3 separate regions of the Homo sapiens genome follow, and all the other regions are linked to region 3. Evidence: promoter capture Hi-C in 16 types of primary human blood cells and fetal thymus (Javierre and others, 2016). All regions are on one chromosome and are shown on one strand. The core of a region is centred on a gene start or on the middle of the fragment in contact, and the rest is flanking DNA. Distances in the headings are between cores, read along the strand shown.

Evidence for each region. Contacts are between HindIII fragments. The CHiCAGO score rates a contact against its expected background, and 5 or more counts as called.
Region 1: a contact is called between a fragment that was not itself captured here and the fragment with the promoter of CDC45 in region 3, in 1 of 17 cell types (total B cells). The highest score is 5.2, in total B cells.
Region 2: a contact is called between a fragment that was not itself captured here and the fragment with the promoter of CDC45 in region 3, in 2 of 17 cell types (total B cells and naive B cells). The highest score is 6.7, in total B cells.

The regions. Positions count from the first base shown.
Region 1 is chr22:19,247,678-19,251,750 of GRCh38, reverse strand. All of the region lies in intron 3 of CLTCL1 (clathrin heavy chain like 1), which reads left to right. LOC124900485 (small nucleolar RNA SNORA15) reads right to left here and starts at 1,911; the gene lies at 1,785-1,911. The HindIII fragment of the contact is 3,467 bases long and covers 355-3,821 here.
Region 2 is chr22:19,272,715-19,276,310 of GRCh38, reverse strand. CLTCL1 (clathrin heavy chain like 1) reads left to right here. Exons shown (of 33, transcript NM_007098.4): 2 at 481-688. Among named protein-coding and RNA genes, the nearest start is that of CLTCL1, 17 kb to the left of the region's middle. RefSeq lists enhancers at 514-1,013, 1,014-1,515. The HindIII fragment of the contact is 4,962 bases long and covers 1-3,596 here.
Region 3 is chr22:19,477,454-19,481,565 of GRCh38, reverse strand. CDC45 (cell division cycle 45) reads right to left here and starts at 1,646. Exons shown (of 19, transcript NM_003504.5): 1 at 1,547-1,646; 2 at 1,349-1,408; 3 at 521-613. The coding sequence starts at 1,597. It overlaps UFD1 (ubiquitin recognition factor in ER associated degradation 1), which reads left to right and starts at 2,373. Exons shown (of 12, transcript NM_005659.7): 1 at 2,373-2,483. The coding sequence starts at 2,481. RefSeq lists silencers at 1,697-1,746, 2,537-2,606 and an enhancer at 1,837-2,136. The HindIII fragment of the contact is 12,348 bases long and covers 1-4,112 here.

The sequences.
Region 1 (4,073 bases), core at 839-3,338, 230 kb after region 3:
GGCACGGTGGCTCACGCCTGTAATCCCAGCACTTTGGGAGGCCAAGGCGGGCGGATCACGAGGTCAGGAGATTGAGACCATCCTGGCTAACACGGTGAAACCCCGTCTCTACTAAAAATACAAAAAATTAGCCGGGCACGGTGGCGGGCGCCTGTAGTCCCAGCTACTCGGGAGGCTGAGGCAGGAGAATGGCATGAACCCGGGAGGCGGAGCTTGCAGTGACCGAGATAGCACCACCACAGTCCGGCCTGGGCAAAAGAGCGAGACTCCGTCTCAGAAACAAAACAAAACAAAAAGGCATCTAGATTTAAATGGAAGAATTAAAGCTGTCTCTATTTGCAGATGACATAAGCTTGTATATGGAAATCCTAAGGAATCTAGTAAAAAACTATTAGAACTAATAAACAAATTGAACAAGGTTACAGAATACAATATCAGTTTGCAAACATCAATTGTGTTCCTAAACATTTGCAACGAACAATCCAAAAATGAAATCAGGAAAGCAATCTCATTAATAATAACATCAAAAAGAATAAAATACTTAGAGGTAAATTTAATTTAAAAAGTGCAAAAGTTACATTCTGAAAACTACAAAACATGTTTGGAAGTAATTAAAGAAGATCTAAATCGAAAAATATTGCATGTTCATGGACTCGAAGATTTAATACTTTTAGGATGGAAGTACTCCTCAAATTGGTCTACAAATTCAACATAATCTCTATTGGAATACCAGCTAGCTTCTTTGTAGAAGTTGGCAAGATGATCCTAAAATTTATGTGGAATTGCAAGGAACCCAGAATAGCCAAAACAACCATAAAACAAATAAAAAGTTGGAGTACTTATACTTCCCAATTTTAAAACTTGCCACAAACCTACAGTGATCCAGAATGTGGTACTAGCTGGGCTCAGTGACTCATGCCTGTAATCCCAGCACTTTGGGAGGTTGAGGAAGGTGGATAACCTGAGCCCAGGAGTTCGAGACCAGCCTAGGCAACATGGCAAAACCCATTTTTTACAAAAAATGCAAAAACTAGCCAGGCATGATGGCATGCACCTGTAGTTCCAGCTACTCTGGAGGCTGAGGTGGGAGAATTGCTTGAGCCTGGGAGGTGGAGGTTACAGTGAACTGAGATTGCACCACTACACTCCAGCCTGGGTGACAGAGTGAGACCTTGTCTAAAAAAAAATTAAAAAAGTTAAAAAAAATAGAATGTGGTACTAACTTGAGAATAGATGACAAACAAATTAGCTTGGTGTGGTGGCATGCACCTGTAGTCCTGGCTACGTGGGAGGCTCAGGCAGGAGAATTGCTTGAGCCCAGGAGTTCAAGGTTACAGTGAGCCATGATCATGTCTTTGCATTCCAGCCTGGGCAATAGAACAAGACCCTGTCTCTAAAATTAAAAAAAAAAAAAAAAAAAGAACAGATGAGTCCCAGAAAAGTGATGTGCCCAAAAAACAGGTTTTGTTTTCCTTTCTTTTCTTTTTTTGTTTTTCTGAGACAGAGTCTCACTCTGTCACCCAGGCTGGAGTGCAGTGGCACGAACTCAGCTCACTGCAACCTCCACCTTCCAGATTCAAGTGATTCTCCTGCCTCAGCCACCCGAGTAGCTGGGACTACAGGTGTGTGCCACTATGCTCAGCTAATTTTTGCGTTTTTAGTAGAGACAGTGTTTCATCATGTTGGCCAGGCTGGTCTTGAACTCCTGACCTCAAGTGATCTGCCCACCTCGGCCTCCCAAAGTTCTGGGATTACAGGTGTGAGCCACCGCGCCCGGCCCATTTATTTGTATTCACCTTTAATAATAATATGCCACGAAAAACCTTAGCATACCATCAGTCATTCTAAAGGGAAGATTGCTTTTGCATGGTACCTGGCGATTTTTTTTTTAAGTTTCAAAATCAGCTTTGATGGTTTGTGAACAGGGTATGAAAGTTAATTTTCTGATTAAAGGGAAGGGAAACCAAATAAAAATTATCAAAACCTAGCCATACCATCAACTTAGAAATAAATTTAAATTTACTCAAGGTTATTTCTTTTTTTTTCTTTTCTTTTGAGACAGAGCCTTGCTCTGTTGTCCAGGCTGGAGTGCAATGGTGCGATCTCGGCTCACTGCAACCTCCACCTCCTGGGTTCAAGTGATTCTCCTATCTCAGCCTTCCAGGTAGCTGGGATTATAGATGTGCACCACCATGCCTGGCTAATTTTTTTTGTGTTTTTAGTAGAGACAGGGTTTCACCGTGTTGGCCAGGCTGGTCTCAAACTACTCAAGGTTATTTCTAATAAGTTATGAACATATTTCTCTGAATCAAAATAATATCAGTAGAGTGCAAATATATATTTTAAAAATTCATTAATTTTAATTTCTTAATTTTAATTTTTTTTATTTTTTGAGACAGGGTCTTGCTCTGTCGCTGAGGCTGGAGTGCAGTGGCACAATCTCGGCTCACTGCAACCTCCACCTCCCGGGTTCAAGCAATCCTCCTGCCTCAGCTTCCCGAGTAGCTGGGATTATAGGCACGTGCCACCACGCACTGCTAATTTTTGTATTTTTAGTAGAGATGGGGTTTCACCATGTTAGCCAGGATGGTCTCAAACTCCTGACCTCAAGTAATCCGCCCGCTTCGGCCTCCCAGAGTGCTGGGATTATAGGCATGATCATTTGAACTTATTCCTCCAGTCTAATCAAAGTGTTGTATCCCTTGTGGTCAATTGATTTTTGACAAGGTTGCCAAGACAGTTCAGTGAAAAAAAGAGGAGTTGTTCAATACAAGGTCTTGGGGCGCTGGACATTTATATGCAGAAGCATTAAATGGGACCTCTGTCTCATAATACTAAAAAACTCAAAATCGATCAGACCTAAATGTAAGAACTGAACCTATAAAACTCTTAGAAGGGCCAGGCACAGTGGCTCATGCCTGTAATCCCAGCACTTTGGGAGGGAGGCTGAGGCAGGCAGATCACCCTGTGGTCAGGATTTCAAGACCAGCCTGGCCAACATGGCGAAACCCCATCTCTACTAAAAATACATCATGAATGAACCTTGGAAATATTAAGCTAAGTGAAAGATGCCAGTCACAAAAGACCACATACTATATGATTCCATTTATTTGAAATGTTCAGGATAGTCTGACCTATAGACACAGAAAATAGATAAGTAGTTGCCTATGACTGGAGGTGGAGTCTGGGAGATAGGAATGAGGATTGAATGCTAATAGGGTTTCTTTCAAAGGATGAAAGTGTTCTAAAACTATGTTGTAGTGATGATTGCACAGCCCTCTGAGTATACGAAGAAACATTGGATGGTATGCTTTAAACCAGGGGTGTCTGATCTTTTGGATCCCCTGGGCCACACTGGAAGAAGAATTGTCTTGGGTCACACATAAAATACACTAGCAATAGCTGATGAGCTAAAAACAAAAATTGCAAAAAAATTCATAATTTTTTTTTTTTGAGACCGAGTTTTGCTCTTGTTGCCCAGGCTGGAGTGCAGTGGCATGGTCTTGGCTCACCGCAACCTCCGCCTCCCGGGTTCAAGCGATTCTACTGCCTCAGCCTTCCTGAATAACTGGGACTACAGGCATGCACCACCACACCTGGCTAATTTTGTATTTTTAGTAGTGATGGGGTTTCTCCATGTTGGTCAGTCTGGTCTCGAACTCCTGACCTCAGGTGATCTGCCTGCCTCGGCCTCCCAAAGTGCTGGGATTACAGGTGTGAGCCACCATGCCCAGCCAAAAGTTCATAATGCTTTAAGAAAGTTTATGAATTTGTGTTTGGGCCACATACAAGGCTATACTGGGCCACATGTTGGACAAGCTTGCTTTAAATAGATAAGTTCTATGGTATGTGAATTATATCTCAATTAAGCTTTTAAAAATACCCTTGGGGGCCAGGCACGGTGACTCACACCTTTAATCCCAGCACTTTGGGAGGCCAAGGCAGGAGGATCACCTGAAGTCAGGAGTTCGAGACCAGCCTGGCCAATGTGGTGAAACCCCGTCTTTACTAAAAATACAAAAATTAGCCGAGAGTTGTGGCATGTGCCTGTAATCCCAGCTACTTGGGAGGCT
Region 2 (3,596 bases), core at 1,006-3,505, 210 kb after region 3:
GTTTAAGCAAAAACTTTTGGCCAGTTCTTTTTTCTTGCCTTTTGGAGAAATCAGGTTTTGTGTTTCCTCCCTTTTTCCCTTCCACTTCCCTCGCCTTCACCTCTCCAAGACCTCCTTCCTCCCAAAGCTCTCCTCGGTGGTGGGCTTATCTGTGACACCTTATCTGATGGTGTTCTTTGGGAGTTCACCCCCAACTCATCTCCTCCTGTCTGTATCACTTGTGGCGTCCTTGACACTGCCTAGTGTCATCCTGCACATGTCTTATCTCCACTGTGGGCTGGTAATCTCTCAAGGAGAGTTGATTCACAGGCTTGGGTGGATCTATTACAGGCGTAGAAAAGCAAGCTAATGTTTCCTTCAAGTGTTTACCTAATGTTAACTTTTTTCTAAATTTTATTTAACTTCTCCTCTTTTGCCTTTGGCTACAGTCAGTCCATTTCAGAGGAAAAAAATTTAATCAAATGCTTTTTTTCTGTTTAGCTCCAAAACCTTGGAATTAATCCAGCTAACATTGGATTCAGCACACTGACCATGGAATCTGACAAGTTCATATGTATCCGAGAGAAAGTTGGTGAGCAGGCACAGGTCACGATCATTGACATGAGTGACCCAATGGCTCCGATCCGACGGCCTATCTCTGCAGAGAGTGCCATCATGAATCCAGCCTCTAAGGTGATAGCTCTGAAAGGTAAACCCGATGGGATTGTTAGAAAGGAATCTTACCTCATTTTAACTGCTTTGTTACCTTAAATATTGAACAAGTGTCACTAAGCTCATGGCGAAGTGCTCCTCAATAGTATTCCACTTAATTCCAAAAGTTTTAGCAAAAGTTATGTTTAGTGTGCCCTAGTAAGAGGCCCCTGAGCACCAGAGCTTCTTGGTAACATCACCCACAGCGCCAGACACACCGAGAGGAAGAAAATGCCCAGGCCTTTGTCTTCATGCGACTAGGAACGCACAACAGCACTGTGCATGTTTCCCAGGAAGGCTGTGTGGCCCCCTTGCCTGAGGGCCTGCTGCAGTGGTGCTTCCGGTCATCCGACGACACAGGCTCGGGGGTTTTCCTCCTGTGAAACACATCAATGATAGAGGAGCTGATAATTAATAGAATTTTACTTCCTTGAAATCAGGGAGTCTTGGGTGCTTAAAGCCTTCTAGTTATCTTGAAAAATATAGAATCTTCTTATATTGCCTTCATTTGGCAAATAAAAGGATTATGTATGCAGTAGACTTAATGTTTTGTGTGAAATGCAGTATCACTTACTTTGAAAAGCAAAAACTGGGCCGGGCGCAGTGACTCATGCCTGTAATCCCAGCACTTTGGGAGGCCGAGGCAGGCAGATCACCTGAGGTTGGGAGTTCGAAGACTAGCCTGACCAACATGGAGAAACCCCATCTCTATTAAAAATACAAAAAATTAGCTGGGCGTGGTGGCGCATGCCTGTAATCCCAGCTCCTCAGGAAGGCTGAGGAGAATCTCTTGAACCCAGGAGGTGGAGGTTGCGGTGAGCAGAGATCGCGCCATTGCACTCCAGCCTGGACAACAAGAGCAAAAATCGGTCTCAAAAAAAAAAAAAAAAGAAACAAAGAAAAGCAAAAACTGTTTCTGGAGGTAAAATTTGTGAATGCCAAATATTAGCTTTGCCTAGGCTTCTATTTTATTACAGAAATAGTGTCTACTTGGTCATTTCAGTAGGTAGAAGGACATCTGAAAGTTAAGACCTTTCTATTTAAAAAGAAATAACTGAAATTCTTTTATTTGAAAGGATCTTTGTTCTATTACCAACCCTACCTTTTCCCTTGTAATCTTGTCAAAGTAATTATTTGAACATATAGTGTAAGCAGTATAAATGATTTTGGTTAGAAATTATTACAATTATGGGATATTAATGATGCTTTTATCTGTCTCTTACTTTGTCACTTACCCCTTGGCTCTTTTTGATGGAATATTTGCCTTGCAGTGTCGCCCTTTTCTGCATTTTATGTTGTTGTAGTACTTAAAAAAATATTTGTAGAGAAGGGGGTCCCACCATGTTGTTCAGGCTGGTCTTGAGCTCCTGGCCTCAAGTGATCCTCCTGCCTTGGCCTCTCAAAGTGCTTGGATTATAGGCATGAGCCACTGTACCCAGCCTTGTTGTAGTACTTTTGAGAGGCCTTATTTAGCATGTTGTTTGCGGTTTTGTTTGCTGTTTAGTGTTTTCAGCAGGTCTCAGAAATGATCTGCATTTTAATCTTCCTGGTTTTCTGGTACAGTTCTCTTTAACAATGTGCAGTGCGGAGCTCCTAGGGTGTGTGTGTGTGTGTTGTGGTGTGGAGTCGGGGAGTAAAGAGAACGCAATAGTTAGATGTTGTCAATCCCTTCCAGCCAAAGACCACCAGGAACACACTTGCAGTTGAAGAAGGTGGGTTTACTGTTGCAGTGGGAGAGAACACACGCCATGGGGAACTGGGGAGTGTCTCAGTAAGAAGGTGTTAGAGCCTTTTATAGGATTTGGGCTTTGGTTGGATGATTTAGGGGGTAGTCTAAGGAAGCAGGGGTTTGCTGTAGATTGGATGTTGGCAGCAAGTGGGGGTAATTTTTATGATTGCGTATCTCAATAAATTTCATCTATTAGGGAGGGAAGACTAGAGTGAGATTAAAGCTATAATGGGTAAAGAAGTAGCAGTCACTCATTTTAGCTGAAAGAGAGGCGTGTTGGTATTTTGTGAGTTGCGCAGTAACCTTGTTTTTTCTGTGCTTGCTGTGTCTCACTTGATCGTGGTCTCAGAGGGCCCTTGCCTGAGGCTGGTGTTCTCCAAGGTGGTTTATGTCCATCAGGAGAGCAGCATGGCCTTGCTGTGATTGCCAGGCCAGCTTCCAGGTGGCAGGGGCTGCTGCTTTTTATTTTCGTTCTTAATGGTCATATAGATCACTTCAACTATAACATGTTGAGTCTTGTTTTCTTTTCCGTGGGGGAAGTGTAAGACTCTGGAACCAAAAAGGGACATAATTTTAAGGCTTTATCTTATTTTTACTGCTAATTCTGTAGCAGTAAAATCTCAGATCATTGTAGTACAAATCGTTGACAAGTGGAGGATGTACAGTGTGTTTTCAAGGCCCTACACCAAAATGAGCAAACTGTCTTTGAAGAAAGAGTTGTTTGTATAGTGATTGGTTGATGGAGATGATTGATTTGTAAGTGAGCTCCTCAGAGTCCTCTGCCATATCACACACCTTGACTAGCTTCTAGGATCCAGTGCAGAAATACAGGGTGTGTGGGGGGGTGCTGCACCTTGTATCTCACAGATTTTTCCCATTTTGGCTGGTGAAGTTTTGTGATTGGAAAGGGGCTCGTGAAGCAGCTCTCGGACCTCCCTTTACAAAAAGGGCTAGGCCAGGTGGCTCATGTCTGTAATCCCAGTGCTTTGGGAGGCCAAGGCTGGAGAATTACTTGAGCCCAGGAGTTCGAAGTTGTAGTGAGCTATTATCGTGCCACTGCATTCCAGCCTGGGTGACAGAGCAAGACCCTGTCCCTAAAAATAATATTAAATTAAATTAAGGCCGGGCGTGGTGGCTCACGCCTGTAATCCCAACACTTTGGGAGGCCGAGGCAGGC
Region 3 (4,112 bases), core at 397-2,896:
CTACTAAAAATACAAAAACATTAGCCAGGTGTGGTGGCGGGTGCCTGTAGTCCCAGCTACTCAGGAGGCTGAGGCAGAAGAATGGCATGAACCCAGGAGACACAGCTTGCAGTGAGCCGAGATCGTGCCACTGCACTCCAGCCTGGGCGACACAGCGAGACTCCGTTTCAAAAAAAATAAAAAATAAAAAAATAAACCAAAATAAAATAAAATAATTTTAACTAGACCATATTAAAAACTGCTAGATTCCAAGCACCTTACAATCAAATTTCTGCAAAACAAGTTAAAACAAGTTCAAAGTTGGGGCTATCCACATTCATTATCTTTTTTTGCTGTCAATTTTGCTTCTACAACTTGGGCGTGGTAAGTCACCAGTAAATACAGCATGTTTTTCTCTTCCATATTGCCTAATGTAGCTGATACTTAAATACACGCTTAATCTATCGTGGAAATAGAATGCTGTGTCAAGAAATTACAATTGAGTAAAAAGCCACGTTATTCTAAAACGCATCTTCAATACCTGTTCTTTATGCTCAAGAAATGCAGTTTCAAGTTCTTGCCACCCAGAAACTGGAACCAGCGTATATTGCACGTGGTCACACTGGAACAAGGCCTGGAGAGAGAGTGTTTTCAAAGCCTATCTTATTTAGGACATTAGCAATTTACCTTGAAAAGAAACTGAGGAAGATTAGACGGGTTGAGAGACAAAAGACACGGGATAACATTAAAGCTAGTGAAATGCTTACGGGAAAAGCTAGGTGCTAGGGATATGAGCGTTTACCATACCATTCTGTGAATTTTGCAAATTACCAAAGTAAAACATCGGGGAGAAATGCCGATTTAACTTCCAGGCCTTCTGAAAAGTTCCTGATCCAAGGGCCTGACCAAAACAACGTAAATACTATGCCCTATTCAAAACCAAACTAACGATCTTCCCTAATAGACTAGGGGCTCCCATATTCCCAGCAACACCTGTGACACGACTATACCCACAGTTGTCACAGATTCCTCTCTCTCAAATCCCCCATTTGAGAGGCCACGACAGATCCAAAGTTTCCCCCAAATGCAACTGCTGTGTTCACCTATTAATATTAATAGCTTATTGCAAAAATACAAACTAGTCTCTTTACCTTTTACTTAATCCTTTATCCCACCCCACACCGTTGGGACAGGGAGGCAACCTCTCCTCCGAGTCTCTCTCCTCTCACTTGCTGTTCACCTCCTGCCCTGCTCCCTCTCCCACCCTAAGCCCTCAGCACCCATCCTGACACTCTGCCCGCCCTGCGCCCCCACGCAGCACCCTCACCTCGCGCGCCGGCCCCGCCCTCCTAGGGTCCGCAGAACTCACCTGAAGGATCTTGCACGCACACAGAGCATCCACGTCCGAGGCCACGAAGAGAAGGACCCTCTATCGGGGAAGAGCAGACCGGCTGAACACGGCGACCCGAACCCCGGCCCTCCCCTGCCTCCCGGTCACCCACGGTCGCTCCCCCTCATCCCTTCCCCACCGGCAAGGCCTCGGCGGGGGTCCCGGACTGGGCGTCACCTGGCTCTGGACCACCTCGTAGAACTCTTTGCGGAAATCGGACACGAACATAGCCACGGCGGCCGGACGCCTGGCGCTCGCGCTGAGGTACCAAGAGCCCGGCGGCGGTCAAGACTCCCGCCAAATCACGGCTCCTCCGATTGGTCCAGGGATCACCAACCAATAGCTTCTTAGTTCCCAGCCTTCCTTTCTTTCTGATTGGGCCACATTGGAGGCGGCCATTAGCGCTCTGCCATTCACGGCCAGAAAACTCCAGCCCGCCCCCAAAGAAGCGTCACCTCTGAGGCCGAACGCAAACACTGTTGCCCCCTTCAACTCTGACTCGCTTTTACCCAGAAAAGCGACGCTGGGCGGACATCTTTACTTTGGGAAGAGAAGCCTACTGCCTCCCACTGGGAACCCTCAGGGAAAGTATACTTCTAACCATACATTAAACTCAGTCACATACCCAATGGGGCAGCATTTACGTTTGCAATAGGTTTTTGGTGTGGTTTGAAGAAGGATTTGTAGCTTAGTTCCGCCCGAGTCCTCGATGGCTGAAGCAGAGGCAGTCTGGGTAGTGCATTGTGGGTAGTGTAGTCGTAAGGACAATGGGCCCTACTAAATTCGTCTGGAGGGGAATACTGTCAACACGTAATTTAAAATAACGTTTAAAAATACCTATAAAAGGGGAAATAAATCACGAAAGGGCATTTTAATGCTTCTACTGAGGGTGTTTTAGAGCCTAGCGTCTTCGCCTGGCCTTTTCTCTTTTGCAGCCGACGCTTTGTCCCGGGCACCCCCCCTCCGGGTCTCGGGTCCGGCACTTCCGGTGAGCCTCTGGGGCGTACCGGCTTGGCGCGGCGGCAGCGGCAGCGGCGGCTGGGAGAGCGGTCGGCGGGGTTTCTTCGTTGCATTGCCTGAGAGGAGCGGAGTCTGCCAGGTGGTGTCCATCATGGTAAGCGCTGACGGGCAGCGGGCGGGGGCTGGGCCTTGGCCCGGGGCCTGAGGTAGGGCCCGGCGGGGCAGGGCGGGGCGGGACGGCGGCGGAGGTGCCGAGTCACCCGGGCCTGAGTCCGGCCTGCAGGCTCATCGGCCGCACCGGGCACAAGCAGGACCCTTGACCACTAACCGCCTGTGGTCGCGTCCGCCGGTCCTGAACGTGGCTCGCATTCTGTCTCAGCCGGACTTGCCCTCCTTGACGAAAGAAAGGAAGGTTTGTGTCCATTCACGGGTTTCCCAAGTGCTGGACGCGCAACAGGTTTCCATAAACCCAAAGTTAGTTGCAAGGTTGCTGGGGATGGGAACAGAATCAGGGCGCTCCCCAGGGAGAATCCGTAGTGGGCATCCCCCGCTCTTGGGGGACACCCAGCTCTTGCCCCAGCTCCGTGAGCTCCGTGCCTACGGGTTCGTGCCTTCGAATCTGTACAGCGGTGTTGTGTTCGGTAATGATAACGATGGAAGCTAATACCTGCTGGTACATTTCCTGTTACACAGCTTTTAACACCTGTACTCCCTCATCGCGGCTTATTTCTTTTAATCCCTACAATCCCTTTGGAAGCAAGGATGATGATGATTTTAAACATGAGAAAACTAACGTTTACAGAGGTACTTTATTCGAGTCACAGAAGTAGGGACTGGAGAGTTGAAGCCAAGTCTGTCTGGCTGCAAAGCACTCTACGGTATTGTCTTCCTGTCACCTGTTTATTTTAGTAAAGACAAGGAATGATTGTTAGATTTTATCCCAAGTGTGTCACTGTCAAACCCTGGCTTATTTCTATTCTTGAGTTCATCCACTCAAGAATACCTGATATGTTCCAGGCAGTGTGCTAGGTCTCGGGATTGAAAAGGAAAGTGAGAGATGGGATCGGGAGCAGCAAAGAAGGGGCAGAAGGTCGGGTTCATGGGTAAACTGCAGGCAGGTTGTTAAGTATGTTGCCCCTTTGTGCGGATTTACCTTTTATATTCAAAGAGAAGAAATGGCTTACATAGGTTGGCTAGTGAGAAGCACTCAAGGGAAGCAAGCCCCTACCCTGTTCTGGCCTTGTTCACCCAGAAACGCTATTTCCTGTGTTATGGTTCTGGCCAAGATTTAGCTGAACAGTTATGCTGCTTAAAAGAAGAAAGACAAAAGATTGGAAATTACTGTGTTAGAGTGCCAGGGAGTAAAGAACCATCCCAGATTTTAGGCGGGAACATGCTATGTTTGCATTTTGGGAGATGGCTAATTCAGCTTGCTAATTTTGGAGTTGCTAGTAAACTGCTTTGTCAGTAGGTGGCATTCCTTCTACTAAATATATATTTGGAATCAAGTCAAGAAATTTTCTCTAATACAGATTTTTTTTTAGTTGTGGTTAAAAAAACCAAATTTTTATCATCTTAACCGTTTTTCAGTCTATAGTTCAATAGTGTTGAGTACATTCACGAGCAACAGATTTTCAGAACTTTTTCATCTTGCAAAAGTGAAACTCTACTCACATTAAACAATAGCTCTCCATTTTCTGCTCCTCACAGCCCCTGTCAATCTCTGTTCCACTTTGTCTCCATGAATTTGCCTACTCTAGGTACTTCCTAGAAGCGGACTCAT